Regions from separate parts of the Homo sapiens genome. Here all the other regions are linked to region 2. The links are contacts of gene promoters, found by promoter capture Hi-C in blood cells and fetal thymus (Javierre and others, 2016). All regions are on one chromosome and are shown on one strand. The core of a region is centred on a gene start or on the middle of the fragment in contact, and the rest is flanking DNA. Distances in the headings are between cores, read along the strand shown. Region 1 overlaps LOC105370030 (a long non-coding RNA gene). Region 2 holds the start of POP5 (POP5 ribonuclease P/MRP subunit). Region 3 overlaps P2RX4 (purinergic receptor P2X 4). Region 4 overlaps P2RX4 (purinergic receptor P2X 4).

What was found. Contacts are between HindIII fragments. The CHiCAGO score rates a contact against its expected background, and 5 or more counts as called.
Region 1: a fragment that was not itself captured here is called in contact with the fragment with the promoter of POP5 in region 2 in 9 of 17 cell types (total B cells, naive B cells, fetal thymus and 6 more); the score reaches 11.7 in total B cells.
Region 3: a fragment that was not itself captured here is called in contact with the fragment with the promoter of POP5 in region 2 in 2 of 17 cell types (naive B cells and total B cells); the score reaches 5.5 in naive B cells.
Region 4: a contact is called between a fragment that was not itself captured here and the fragment with the promoter of POP5 in region 2, in 2 of 17 cell types (total B cells and naive B cells). The highest score is 8.3, in total B cells.

What each region holds. Positions count from the first base shown.
Region 1 is chr12:121,112,507-121,115,733 of GRCh38, forward strand. The region is part of intron 1 of LOC105370030 (a long non-coding RNA gene); the gene reads left to right. Among named protein-coding and RNA genes, the nearest start is that of P2RX7, 19 kb to the right of the region's middle. The HindIII fragment of the contact is 2,011 bases long and covers 277-2,287 here.
Region 2 is chr12:120,580,134-120,583,202 of GRCh38, forward strand. It overlaps POP5 (POP5 ribonuclease P/MRP subunit), which reads right to left and starts at 1,269. Exons shown (of 5, transcript NM_015918.4): 1 at 1,210-1,269; 2 at 982-1,124. The coding sequence starts at 1,229. The HindIII fragment of the contact is 2,825 bases long and covers 1-1,295 here.
Region 3 is chr12:121,233,155-121,236,435 of GRCh38, forward strand. It overlaps P2RX4 (purinergic receptor P2X 4), which reads left to right. Exons shown (of 12, transcript NM_002560.3): 12 at 369-952. The coding sequence ends at 395. Among named protein-coding and RNA genes, the nearest start is that of P2RX4, 25 kb to the left of the region's middle. RefSeq lists an enhancer at 588-1,215. The HindIII fragment of the contact is 6,150 bases long and covers 1-3,281 here.
Region 4 is chr12:121,211,436-121,214,877 of GRCh38, forward strand. All of the region lies in intron 1 of P2RX4 (purinergic receptor P2X 4), which reads left to right. Among named protein-coding and RNA genes, the nearest start is that of P2RX4, 3.0 kb to the left of the region's middle. The HindIII fragment of the contact is 3,683 bases long and covers 1-3,175 here.

The DNA of each region.
Region 1 (3,227 bases), core at 32-2,531, 530 kb after region 2:
ACATAAAAAAATAAAAATAAATAAAAATAAGTTAGCTCCATGCTTTTAACTCAGTAACAAAAAGACAAATGACCAACGTCAAAAGTGAGCAAAGGACTATCTAAGAAGATATATATACACGGCCAATGGGCACATGAAAAGATGCTCACCACGTAATGATATGTATTAGGGAAACACAGATCAAAACCACAGGACACACGACTTCCTATCACTAGGATGACTGTTATTTTAAAAATGGAAAATAACAAGTATTGGTGAGGAGATGAAGAAATTGGAAGCTTTGTATATTACTGATAGGAGTGTAAAATGGTGCTGCTGCTGTGGGAAACTGGCCATTCCTAAAAAAGTTAAACATAGAATTACCATATACCCAGCAGTTCCACTTTTAGGTTTTTACCCCAAAGAATTGAAAATGGGGACTCAAGCAGATACCATTTTTATTTTTATTTTTTATTTTTAGTAGAGATGGGGTTTCACCGTGTTGGCCAGGCTGGTCTCGAACTCCTGATCTCGAGTGATCCACCCGCCTCGGCCTCCCAAAGTGCTAGGACTGCTGGCGTGAGCCACCATGCCTGGCCTCAAACAGATACTTGTAACCTAAATGTTCACAACAGCACTATTCACAGTAGCCAAAGATGGAGACAACCCAGATGTCCCTAAACAGACGAATGGATTAACAAAATGTGGTCTATCCATGTGATTCAATTTTACTCAGCCATAAAAAAGAATGAAAGGCACATGCTACCACATGAATGAACCTTGAAAACAAGGTGAGATTCTTGTGAAAGGAGCTAGTCACAAAAGGCCACATAGTGTATGATGCCATTTATGTGAAATATCCAAAAACAGACAAACCCACACAGAGAAAGAAAAGCAACGGTTACCAGGGGCTGGAGGAGGAGGAATGGCCAAATGGGTACGGGGTTTCCTTTTGGGGTGATGAGAATGTTCTGGAACTAGACAGAAATAGTGGTTACATAACACTGTGAATGAACTAAATGCCACTCAATTGTTCACTTAAAAAAAAACAGAGATGGAGTCTTGTCGTGTTGCCTAGGTTGGTCTCTAACTCCTGGGATCAAGCAATCCTCCCGCCTCAGCCTCCCAAAGTGCTGGGATCACAGGCCTGAGCCACCGCGCTGGCCAATTGTTCACTTTTAAATGATTAATTTCATGTTATTTGAATTTCACCTCAATGGAAAAACTCAGCCCCAAACATGCCTTATCTTCCCTCCCTACCTGATTTTTCTCCTAATGCACAGGGCCCCTCACACATGGTATGTCCGGCCTATGTGTCCATTGTTCATCCTGCTTCTTTAAAATATAAATTCCAACAGGGTAAGGATTTCATCTGTTTTGTTAACTCACATATGCCCAAAGAGTCTCTGGTACTCAATAAATATTTGTTGAATAAATGAATTAGATAGGGTGTGGTGATGGAGAGAGTCCCGCCGCCATCCCTGCCCCCATCTCTAATTCTAACGTTCTAACCCGGCTCTTGACCTTGGAGCCGGTTAACGATGATCCTGTCTGGGCTCATTTTCCCTCCTTTTCCTGAAGAGCAGCATCCACAGGCCCTCACTCAGCTCACTCCCTTTTAACCCTTGTCTGCTGAGAGTTTGAGATAAAGGGGGCCACGAGAGAAGACAATGAATCCATTACAATGTGTGATGAGCTGTCTGCTCTGTGGCTTCCCACAGCAATTTATCATGACCTGGAACCACAGCTGTGAGGCCGGGTGTTCCCCCGCCAGGACCTCACTCCCCAGCTGCTTCAGAAGGGAACATTTACAGGAACCTGTCCATACCTATTTAATGAACAGCTGCTCGGATGCAGCCCTGTCCCAGGCACTCAGCCAAATGACAAATGAACTATATAATCATTCATTCATTCGATGATTCATCCATTCTGTGATTGATTGATTCATTCATTCATGTGGTTGTCAAACATTCATTGAGCACCTACTATGTGCCAGACACTGTACCTTGCACTGTGGCCCTTAATATCAGAGATGTCAATGTATGATAGACCAGGATTCCTCAGCCTAGGCACTGGGGACACTTTTGTTTTTTGTTGTTGTTGTTGCTGTTTTTGAGACAGGGTTTCACTCTGTGGCCCAGGCTGGAGTACAGTGGCACAATCACAGCTCACTGCAGCCTCAACCTCCTGGGCTGAAGCAATCCTCCCACCTCAGCCTCTTAAGTAGCTGCGATTACAGGCACACGCCACCATGCCTGGCTAATTTTTTTGTATTTTTTGTAGAGATAGGGTCTCCCTGTATTGCTTAAGCTTGTCTTGAACTCCTGAGCTCAAGCTATCCTCCTGTCTCAGCCTCCTAAAGTGCTGGGATTACAGGTGTGAGCCACCATGCCTGGCTACTGTGCACATTGGAACCAGGTATTTCTTTGTCACAGGGGTTGTCCTATAGATTAGCAGCACCCCTGGCTGCAGATGCCAGTAGCACTCCCTCAGTCGTGACAACTAAGATGTCTCCAGACATTGCCAAACGTCCCTGGGGCACACAGTCATCCCTAGTTGAGAACCACTGGTCTAGACAAGTATATTTTCCTCAAATTATCAGAGAAAAAAATGCTTTTATTTTTGCTGTTTCCTCCTTCTCTCCCTCTCTCTCTCCCCCTACTTACCTACCTACCTGGCTAGTTAAATTGGAAAGCAAAAGCATAATTACAGCTAACATTTGTAAATAGCACATAGTAAGGGGTCATTTTATCTTGGTTATTCTCGCAACAACTATATGGGCAAAATGCCACCAATGTTCACTTTACAGATGAAGAAATCAAGGCCCAGAGATGCTAAGCAAGTTGTCCAGGGTCACACCAAGATGAAGGGGCAGAGCTGGGGTTCAAATCCAGGTCCATATGACTCCAGAGCCCGGGTGCCACCAGATTAAGATTAAGATTAAGAGACCAGGTTAAGCAATATAGGAAGACCCTATCTCTACAAAAAAATACAAAAAAAATTAGCCAGGCATGGTGGCATGCACCCGTAGTCGCAGCTAACTGAGAGGCTGAGGCGGGAGGATTGCTTCAGCCCAGGAGGTTGAGGCTGCAGTGAGCTGTGATTGTGCCACTGCACTCCAGCTGGGCCATAGCGTGAAGCCCTGTCTCAAAAACAATAACAACAAAAACAAAAAACAAAAGTGTCCACAGTGTCTAGGCTGAGGAATCCACTGTGCCACACTCCCTGGCACACAGCCTCACACATTG
Region 2 (3,069 bases), core at 19-2,518:
CAGGAGGCTGAGGCATGAGAATCGCCTGAACCCAGGAGGCAGAGGCAGCAATGACCCCCGATCTCGCTGCTGCACTCCAGCAGCCTGGGCAACAGCCAGACTGTCTCGAAAAAAGGAAAACTTTGGAGTAACAGAGCCTACTATGTGCCAAAAGTATGTTGTAGGCAAGTGGCACGTAGATCTATCAGCGAGTAAAAGAGAAAAGCCAAAACACCCACTGTGTTGCACACCACTCAGAACTGGTGAATGAATTTAGAATTGAAAATGCTTTCTAATTCACTAGTTAATTCAATAAATAGGAGCAGGTAGGAGGCGATCCGTTTTAATTTAGGAAAAACCCCCACAAAACCCTTGCCTGAAAAACAGGCTGTTTTACTGCATTTGGGCTCCGTAATTATTGTAGCAGTCAGCTCTCAGTCTCACCTGACTTAGGAGAGTTAAGTCTATCTGCATTTAACTCTCCAGAAGTCAATCTCAAACAAGGTTAAAGTGGGAACTAATTTAAGTGGTGTGAAAGAAGGGCCCCTCTGTCCTAGCTCATCCTGTATTTACATATATTGACAATCATGTGTTCTGTACTTTACCAACTATTTAAGGGCTTTCCCGGAGTACTTTTGACAATTTTTTTCCATATGATGTTAATGTAATCGGTCATATAATAGCTCTTACTAGGAAGTATACACAGCTTCCCTCATTTAATTCTCTACCCTATCAAATTCAATCACAACCAATTACAGAAATTACCTGTCAAGCAGGTAAAAAGAGGCTTCTAGCTCAAAGCCCCACTGCCTTCGGGCCCCTCCTTTTAGCGCTCTGCTAATTTCGGACTCTCGCTTGGGGTCCCAGGCGCTTAAAGAGATACCTTACAAAAAACGGTGCACGGGCTTGGCCACTCGTGCCCCTTCTTTCTTCCTCCGGCGCCTGCCCCCTCCACATCCCGCCATCCTCCCGGGTTCCCCTCTTCCCCCAGCGCCCTTGCACCCGCGAAGCCGATGGAGCAGGCGGCTGCGCCGAAAGTTCCGTGCACCCTGGCGATCGTGTCCCGTACGAGGCTGCTCAGAACTCGGTCATCGAGGCTTAGGCGGCAGCGGGGGTCGTCAGACACCAGTTCGCAGAGCAGGTACCTGCGGCAGGCGAGAGGAAGGTGGACACTAGCGGGGCCGCGAGGACCCAGCAAGGCACTGGGAGGGTCTGGAAGGGAATGCTTACCTGTGCTTGAACCGCACCATGGCTGCCTCCGCGCTCTCCGGTCCGGCGTGCAAACCGGATGTGAATTCTGTCCGCTGCCAATGGGAAGCTTGCTTCCGCAGCCTTTCAGCCATTCAGAGAAGGAGACAGGATATTAGGGCGGAGCTAGAAAGTTGAGAGGCCGAAGTCTGTCAGCTCTCTCAAGCCCCGCCCAACTGCGTTTGTAAGCGCGCATGCGTCCTGCGGAGGGTCACTGACTAGTTTGAGGGCTGAACCCCGGGATGGAGCGCCTTGCAGCTGTAATGGATGGTTCTGTTGCACACTGAAGTTTACAATAGTGTGTAGGATGTAGCCGCTACCCTTGGGGCCCTGGGAACCTTGCACCACAGTTATGTATGCGAGTATATTCTCTCCCCAAGGTGAACGGTGGAGCTTTTGAGGGCAAGACCCTGCACCTCACAGCCCAGGCATTGACAAACGGGAAATCGGACTTTTATTTTCAGGTTTGAGCTCAGTTTAATTCTTCCATACAGCTAAATATGCTATTGCTGTTTGGGCCTTTCAGCAATCTTAGGGAGGCGAGTGTGCCGTCTCGTTTTTTGCTCGCAGAAACAATACGTGGTCATTGTATTTTCCATTTCCGTTTACCTTTTTTTTTTGACAGAAAAGCACAAAGAAGCAAATAAATTATAATCCCAGCACTGAGAGAGAATAACTGTTGTCGTGTAGTGTGTTTTCTTCTGTCATTTTCTCCCTGCGCCAGTGGTTCTCAAAGTGCCGTCTGGGGACCACTGAGATTTCCTAAATTCACTCGATTTGGGAGTCCCCGAAGTCAAAATTACTTTCATAATAATGCTAAGATGTTACTTGTCTTTTTCATTCTCTCTGAGTGAACAGTCAAGTTTTCCAGAGGCTGCTTGACGTGATGACGTCACTGCTCTAGGAATTGTGTATTGTTTTTTAAACGTTTCTCAACTTTAATGTCCATAGTAAATATAACCCACAAAACTAAAAGCTCTTGGGCACCCTCAGTAACGTGTGTAAAGGGGTCCTGAGACAGAGAAAACAGCTTGAGAACTATGCCCTCTGTTAAATTATGTTTTTTCTTTTATTTTTAAGTATTTTAAAAAAAATGTCTTATGGGGTATTACATAAAGTACATATTCTTAAGTGTATTCATCTCAATGAATTTTTACATATGGATAGACTTCTATAACCACCTCCAAGATTAAAATAAAGAGCATTTCCAGTATCCCAGAAGGTTCCCTGAGCCCTCTTCCAGTCAAATTGCTTACTGCTATCAGCCACTATTACCACTTCTACCCTGCTAGATTAATTTTGCCTGTTCTTAAACTTTATATAAATGCAGCCAGGAGGCTGGCTGCAACCTCTGCCTCCTGAGTTCAAGCGATTCTCCTGCCTCAGCCTCCCGAGTAGCTGGGATTACAGGCACCTGCCACCACGACCAGCTAATTTTTGTATTTATTTATTTAGTTTTTTGAGACGGAGTCTCACTCTGTTGCCCAAGCTGGAGCACGATCTCAGCTCACTGCAACCTCTGCCTCCTGGATTCAGGCGATTCTCCTGCCTCAGCCTCCCAAGTAGCTGGGACTACAGGTGTGTGCCACCACAACTGGCTAATTTTTGTATTTTTAGTAGGGACAGGGTTTCCCCATGTTGGCCAGGCTGGTCTTGAACTCCTGACCTCAGGTGATCCACCCACCTCGGCCTCCCAAAGTGCTGGGATTACAGGCGTGAGCTACCACGCCTGGCCATTTGGCTATATTTTCATGTCAGCTCTTCAGCGACAATACTGTTTTTTAGCTGTGCAGTATTGCATTGTTTGGACGTACCATTGTGAAGTTGGTCAGTATCCCTTTG
Region 3 (3,281 bases), core at 255-2,754, 650 kb after region 2:
GCGTGGGCCTGTCTGGGGAGGCCCTTCTGCAGAGGCTGGCACCAGTGTGGCGTGGTGTCCCCGTTAACCCGGGCAGTCCTGCCACTCTCAGCAGCTGCTCCATCCCTAGGCCCCTGTACTAGATTGACTCTTTAAACCCAGCCTCGTTTCAATGAGCGACATCTCAGGTTGGTGATGATAATGCATGCTCTGAGAATGCCTGTGGGCACACACTACTTCAGTGCACCTTGCGGAACAGGAAGGGTTGGGTTCCAGGCCTGGGACCAACTTGAGAACCCCTGGCGGTGAAGTCCCAGGAGCGCACCTCCCTCCCGCCTGCCACAAGGGGTCCCAGGGGCACCTTGATCTGCTTGTGTCCTTCTTTGCAGGGTCTTGCTAGTGAGCTGGACCAGTGAGGCCTACCCCACACCTGGGCTCTCCACAGCCCCATCAAAGAACAGAGAGGAGGAGGAGGGAGAAATGGCCACCACATCACCCCAGAGAAATTTCTGGAATCTGATTGAGTCTCCACTCCACAAGCACTCAGGGTTCCCCAGCAGCTCCTGTGTGTTGTGTGCAGGATCTGTTTGCCCACTCGGCCCAGGAGGTCAGCAGTCTGTTCTTGGCTGGGTCAACTCTGCTTTTCCCGCAACCTGGGGTTGTCGGGGGAGCGCTGGCCCGACGCAGTGGCACTGCTGTGGCTTTCAGGGCTGGAGCTGGCTTTGCTCAGAAGCCTCCTGTCTCCAGCTCTCTCCAGGACAGGCCCAGTCCTCTGAGGCACGGCGGCTCTGTTCAAGCACTTTATGCGGCAGGGGAGGCCGCCTGGCTGCAGTCACTAGACTTGTAGCAGGCCTGGGCTGCAGGCTTCCCCCCGACCATTCCCTGCAGCCATGCGGCAGAGCTGGCATTTCTCCTCAGAGAAGCGCTGTGCTAAGGTGATCGAGGACCAGACATTAAAGCGTGATTTTCTTAATCCCTGTCTGTTGTCTCATAGCATGTGCTAGAACTTTCCTTCCTACCCTTTTACGACAACCAGTAAATCCACTATTCCGGCTCACTGTGCTCAGAAAAGGTCCATGGGATGGTCTGTTTCTGGCACTTATGCACATTTTCCCCTACTTCTTTATTTATTTATTTTATTTTTGAGGCAGAGTCTCACTCTGTCGCCCAGGCTGGAGCGCAGTGGTGCAATCTCGGCTCATTGCAACCTCTGCCTCCCGGGTTCAAGCGATTCTCCTGCCTCAGCCTCCCGAGTAGCTGGGATTACAGGTGCATGCCACCATGCCCGGCTAATTTTTGTATTTTTAGTAGAGACAGGGTTTCACCACATTGGCCAGCCAGGCTGGTCTCGAACTCCTGACCTCAAATGATCCATCTGCCTTAGCCTCTCAAAGTGATTGGATTACAGGTGTGCGCCACCACACCTGGCCTATTTATTTTTTTTATTACCCAGGCTGGAGTGCAGTGGCGCAATCACTGCTCACTGCAGTCTCCACCTCCTGGGCTTAAGCGATCCTCCTACCTCAGCCTCCCATAGTGCTGGGATTACAAGCATGAGCCACTGCACCCAGCTGCCTACTTTTTAAAGCCTAATAATTTGTCATTAGCTTGTCTTCCTGCACAGTTCACAGGACACTTTTTCTCTAGTGACATCTTACCTGTGCCTCCATTTTGACATAAAATTACAATTCTATGCTGTGGGTAACACAATTTTTGGTAACATGGAAGTGGCTTCCTCTCCCTTCCCTGTTTGCTTCCCAAAAGTCTCCAACCAAAAGCAGCAGCACGCATACCTAGCTCCGCACAGGTTCGAAATGTTCATGAAGCTATTTCCAGCTGCAGCTTCACACCAACTAAATGTTTGTGTTTTTTTGTTTTTGAGACAGAGTCTTGCCCTATTGCCCAGGCTGGAGTGCAGTGGCATGATCTCGGCTCACTGCAACCTCTGCCTCCTGGGTTCAAGCAATTCTCCTGCCTCAGCCTCCCAAGTAGCTGGGATTACAGGCATCTGCCACCACACCCAGCTAATTTTTGTATTTTTAGTAGAGACAGAGGTTCACCATGTTGGCCAGGCTGGTCTGGAACTCCTGACCTCATGATCCACCGCCTCAGCCTCCCAAAGTGCTGGGATTACAGGCGTGAGCCACTGCACCCAGCCACACACCAGCTGAATTCTGCATCAGGTATTCAGAATCCCCCTAGAGGAAGCAGTTTGCCCTTCGCCTCTGCCATGAATTCACTTCCAAGTACTGAGAGGAACCATTATTTTACAAATACTCTGCTTCTGCTGGATAAATGGCCAACCTGGGCTTTTCTTGCTTTTGGAAAAAAAAAAAAAAGTTTACCAACTCCCTTTATTGAAGCTCTGGTTCATGCTGCCTTTTAAAAAAAAATGCTTGTTGCCTGTAATCCCAGGACTTTGGGAGGCCAAGGTGGATCACTTAAGCGTAGGCATTCAAGACCAGCCCAGTCAACATGGTGAGACCCTATCTCTACAAAAAATTAAATTAGCCGGGTGTGGCGGTATATATCTGTAGTCCCAGCTACTTGGGTGGCTGAGGCCGGAGGATCACTTGAGCCCAGGAGGTTGAGGCTGCAGTGAGCTATGATGGTGCCACTGTACTCCAGCCTGGGCACCAAAGTGAGACCCTGTCTGAAAAAATAAAAAGTGCTTGCTTAGGCACATGGGTCAAATGAAGCTGGAATGTTTAGGAATGGTGATATGGGCTGAATGTGTCTACCAAAATTCACATTTTGGAAACTTCATCCCCAAGGCAACCTTATTGGGAGGTGAAGCCTTGGGGAGGTGACTGAGTCAGGATTGCGCTGCCCTCATGAATGGGGTTGGTGCCCTATACGAGGGCTAGAGAGGGAGCTCATCCCCCGTCTGCCTTGCCACTGTCTGCCACGCGAGGACAAGTGTTCCTCCCTCCAAAGGATGCGGCACCAAGGCACCCTCTTGGAAGCAGAGAGCAGCCCTCACCAGATACCAAACCTGCCAGCACCTTGATCTTGAACTTCCTGGCCTCCAGAAATGTGAGAAATCAATTATTGTTCTTTATAAATTACCCAGTCTTAGGTCCCTGTAACAGCAGCACAAAACAGACTTAAGGGCAATGGGTGTGTTTATGATCTTGCTCGTCAAGGAGTGATGGTCACTGGCTGTCTTCCGAAGTGGGGGAGATGCTGTTTAGCCTCTTTTCTAAAACAAATGTGAAAGCAAGCCAGTGTTGGGGTGAGGGGCGGGTGTGTTTCTAGATGCCATGAACACCAGCAGGAGGCTGGGTGTGGTGATGCGCGCC
Region 4 (3,442 bases), core at 84-2,583, 630 kb after region 2:
ACCTCAGCCTCCCAAAATGCTGGGATTACAGGCGTGAGCCCCCACGCGGGGCTGGCACCTGTTACAATTGAATACAACGCGAGAGAGAAGATGATAATTACCTTGCCACCTGGGGCCACTTTAAAGGCTTACCTGGGGTGTTCTGGTGTCTACAGCTGCTGGGCTGACACGTATTGCCTAGTGCAGTGGTCTCCAAACTGCACATTGGAACCATCTGGAAATCTTTGGCTCCCATCCCCAGACCCTTTTTTATTTTTTTGATGGAGTCTCCCTCTGTCGCCCAGGCTGGAGTGCAGTGGTGCAATCTTGGCTCGCTGCAACCTCCACCTCCCTGGTTCAAGCGATTCTCCTGCCTCAGCCTCCTGAGTAGCTGGGATTACAGGCACCCACCACCATGCCCGGCTAATTTTTGTATTTTTAGTAGGGACAGGGTTTCGCCATGTTGGCCAGGCTGGTCTCGAACTCCTGGCCTCAGGTGATCCACCCGCCGCAGCCTCCCAGAGTGCTGGGATTACAGGCGTGAGCCACCGCGCCCAGACGCATCCCCAGACCTTCTGATTTAATTGCTGCAGAGTATGATCGGCTGCCCAGGTGATTCTCATGTTCAGCAACGTTTCGGAACCAATGAACTGTGTTTCCCAAGTTTACCTGATCATGGAAGACTCATCTGAGGAATTGTTTAAAAGTAACAGATCCCCCCGTCTTTGGGGTGAGGTTTGGAATCTTAACACTGCCCAAGGGAAGCCCAAGCAGGTTTGGCTTCCAATATCTGTCAGCAGCAGCAGTAGATACAGACAGTATTCAAGAGGATGGCTTTCCAGGTGCAGACTCAACATCAGAACCACCTGGCCCACACCCAGATTTGGACTCATTGGCTCACACCTGTAGTCCCAGTGCTTTGGGAAGCCAAGGTGGGAGGATTGCTTGAGGCCAGGAGCTCAAGACCAGCCTGGACACAAGACCAGCCTGGACAACATAGCGAGACCCCATCTCTAAGAGAAAAATAAAGTTTAAAATGGTAAATTGTACTGATGGAGCAGTGCAAAAAAAAGAATTTTTTTTTTTTTTTTTTCTGAACACGGTGGCTCATGCCTATAATCTCAGCACTTTGGGAGGCCGAGGCGGGTGGATCACCTGAGGTCAGGAGTTCGAGACCAGCCTGGCCAACATGGTAAAACCCCGTCTCTACTAAAAGTACAAAAAATTAGCCAGGCCTAGTGGCTAATGCCTGTAATCCCGGCTACATGGGAGGCTGAGGCAGGAGAATCGTTTGAATCCAGGAGGCGGAGGTTGCAGTGAGCCCAGATTGCGCCACTGCACTCCAGCCTGGGCAACAAGAGCAAAACTCCATCTCAAATATATATATATATATATATATATATATATATATTTTTTTTTTTTTTTTGGAGACTCACTGCTAGCCAGTTAACTGAACTCACATCCCTGGTTGGACCTGAAGCATTTGGGGGCAGGAGCTCCCCTGCAGCTTTTTGCTTTTGGCGTTTGCTGCTAGTGGGAGGATCAGTGCACATCTACCTTAGGGTACCTGTAAAATTACAACTGCGGAAAATATCCATAGTGGTGTTGCACTGTATGGTAGCCACTAGTAACTTGCACCTGTTGAACACTTAACCGTTCCTACTCTACACTGAGATGTGCTATAACCTTAAAATACACACTGGATTTCAAAGACATAGTACAGAAAAAGAGGCTGGGCACAGTGGCTCATGCCTGAAATCACAGTACTTTGGGAGGCTGAGGTGGGAAGATCGCTTGAGCTCAAGAGTTTGAGACAAACCTGGGCAACATAGCGAGACCTTGCCTCTACAAAAAAATACAAAAATTAGCCTGGCATGGTGGCACACGCCTATAGGCCTACCTATTTGGGAGGTTGAGGCAGAAGGACTGCTTGAACCTGGGAGGTTGAGGCCACAGAGAGCTGTGATCACACCACCCTCCAGCCTGGGCAACAGAGCAAGACACTGTCTCAAAAAAACAAAGAGTACCACTATCACATGAAAACATTTTTTATTGATGACATGTTAAAATATTTTGGATATATTGGGTTACACAGAATATATCATTACAATTAATTTTTCCTGTCTCTTTTTTCTTTTTTTCTTTTTAAACGGCGCCTTGCTTTGTCACCCAGACTGGAGTGCAATGCACTGCAACCTCTGCCTCCCAGGCTCAAGTGATTCTACCATCTCAGCCTCTGGAATTATGGGACTACAGGTGCACACCACCATGACTGGCTAATTATTGTGTTTTTGTTTGTTTGTTTGTACAGATGAGAAATCTCATCTCTACAATCATGAGGTTTCCATGTTGCCCAGGCTGGTCTCGAACTCCTGAGCTCTAGCAATCTGTCTGCCTCGGCCTCCCAAAGTGCTGGGATTACAGGCATGAGCCACCGTGCCCAGCCCTTTCTATTTCTTTTTACTTTTTGACATGGCTACTAGAAACTTTTAAATTACAGGGTCTTGCCCTGTGGTAGCTCACGCCTGTAATCCCAATACTTTGGGAGGCTGAGGCAAGTGGATCCCTTGAGCTTAGGAATTTTGAGACCAGCCTGGGCAACGTAGTGAAACCCCATCTCTACCAAAAATACGAAAAATTAGCTTGGCATAGTGGCGCACACCTGTGGACCCAGCTACTTGGGAGGCTGAGGTGGGAGGATTGCTGTAGCCTGGGAGGCGGAGGTTGCAGTGAGCCAAGATTGTGCCACTGCACTTCAGCCTGGGCGACAGAGCGAGAGCCTGTCTCAAAAAAAAAAATATGTGGCTCGCGTTATGTTTTTATGGGACAGCGCAGCTCTGTAGGATTCCTTATGACGCATTCACTATCTCGGTCATGAGAATCTTTAAAGCAGTAAATGCTTTGCTTTTGTCCGTCTTGCTATAATCAAAACTGACTCAGGACCTGCATTAAGGCTCTTTTTTTTTTTAACCTCATCTCTTAACTTTTTGATGCAACTCATCTTAGTGAAATTGTGGTCTCCTCCTACAGCAACCCTCCCTCAAAAAAAGACCGAACACGCAATTCTCATCTATCTAACTCTGTTAACAATCATATGAGGAGGAAATAATCACATGATAATGAGTGGCATGAAACCCTGTGTCTCTAAATTAAGCAACTCACTGTACTTGATGAGTACATCAGTCTTCCTGCCCCAAGCTTTTGTGTGTCAGACTGGAATTAAATGGAAGCTTACACTGCAGCTGAATTCCTAGAAGCCCTGGACTTGTCAGGGGAAAAGCCCATGGGGGGAAAGCCCATCTCTAGGCTGGGCAATGAACTTGGAGACTGCTCGATCACACACACTCATAAGTAACAAAACCATTAATTTCTTTTCTTTTTTTTGGTGGAGGGACAGAGTCTCACTCTTGCCCAGGCTGGAGTGCAGTGGCATGATCTCAGCCCACTGCAATCTCCACCTCCC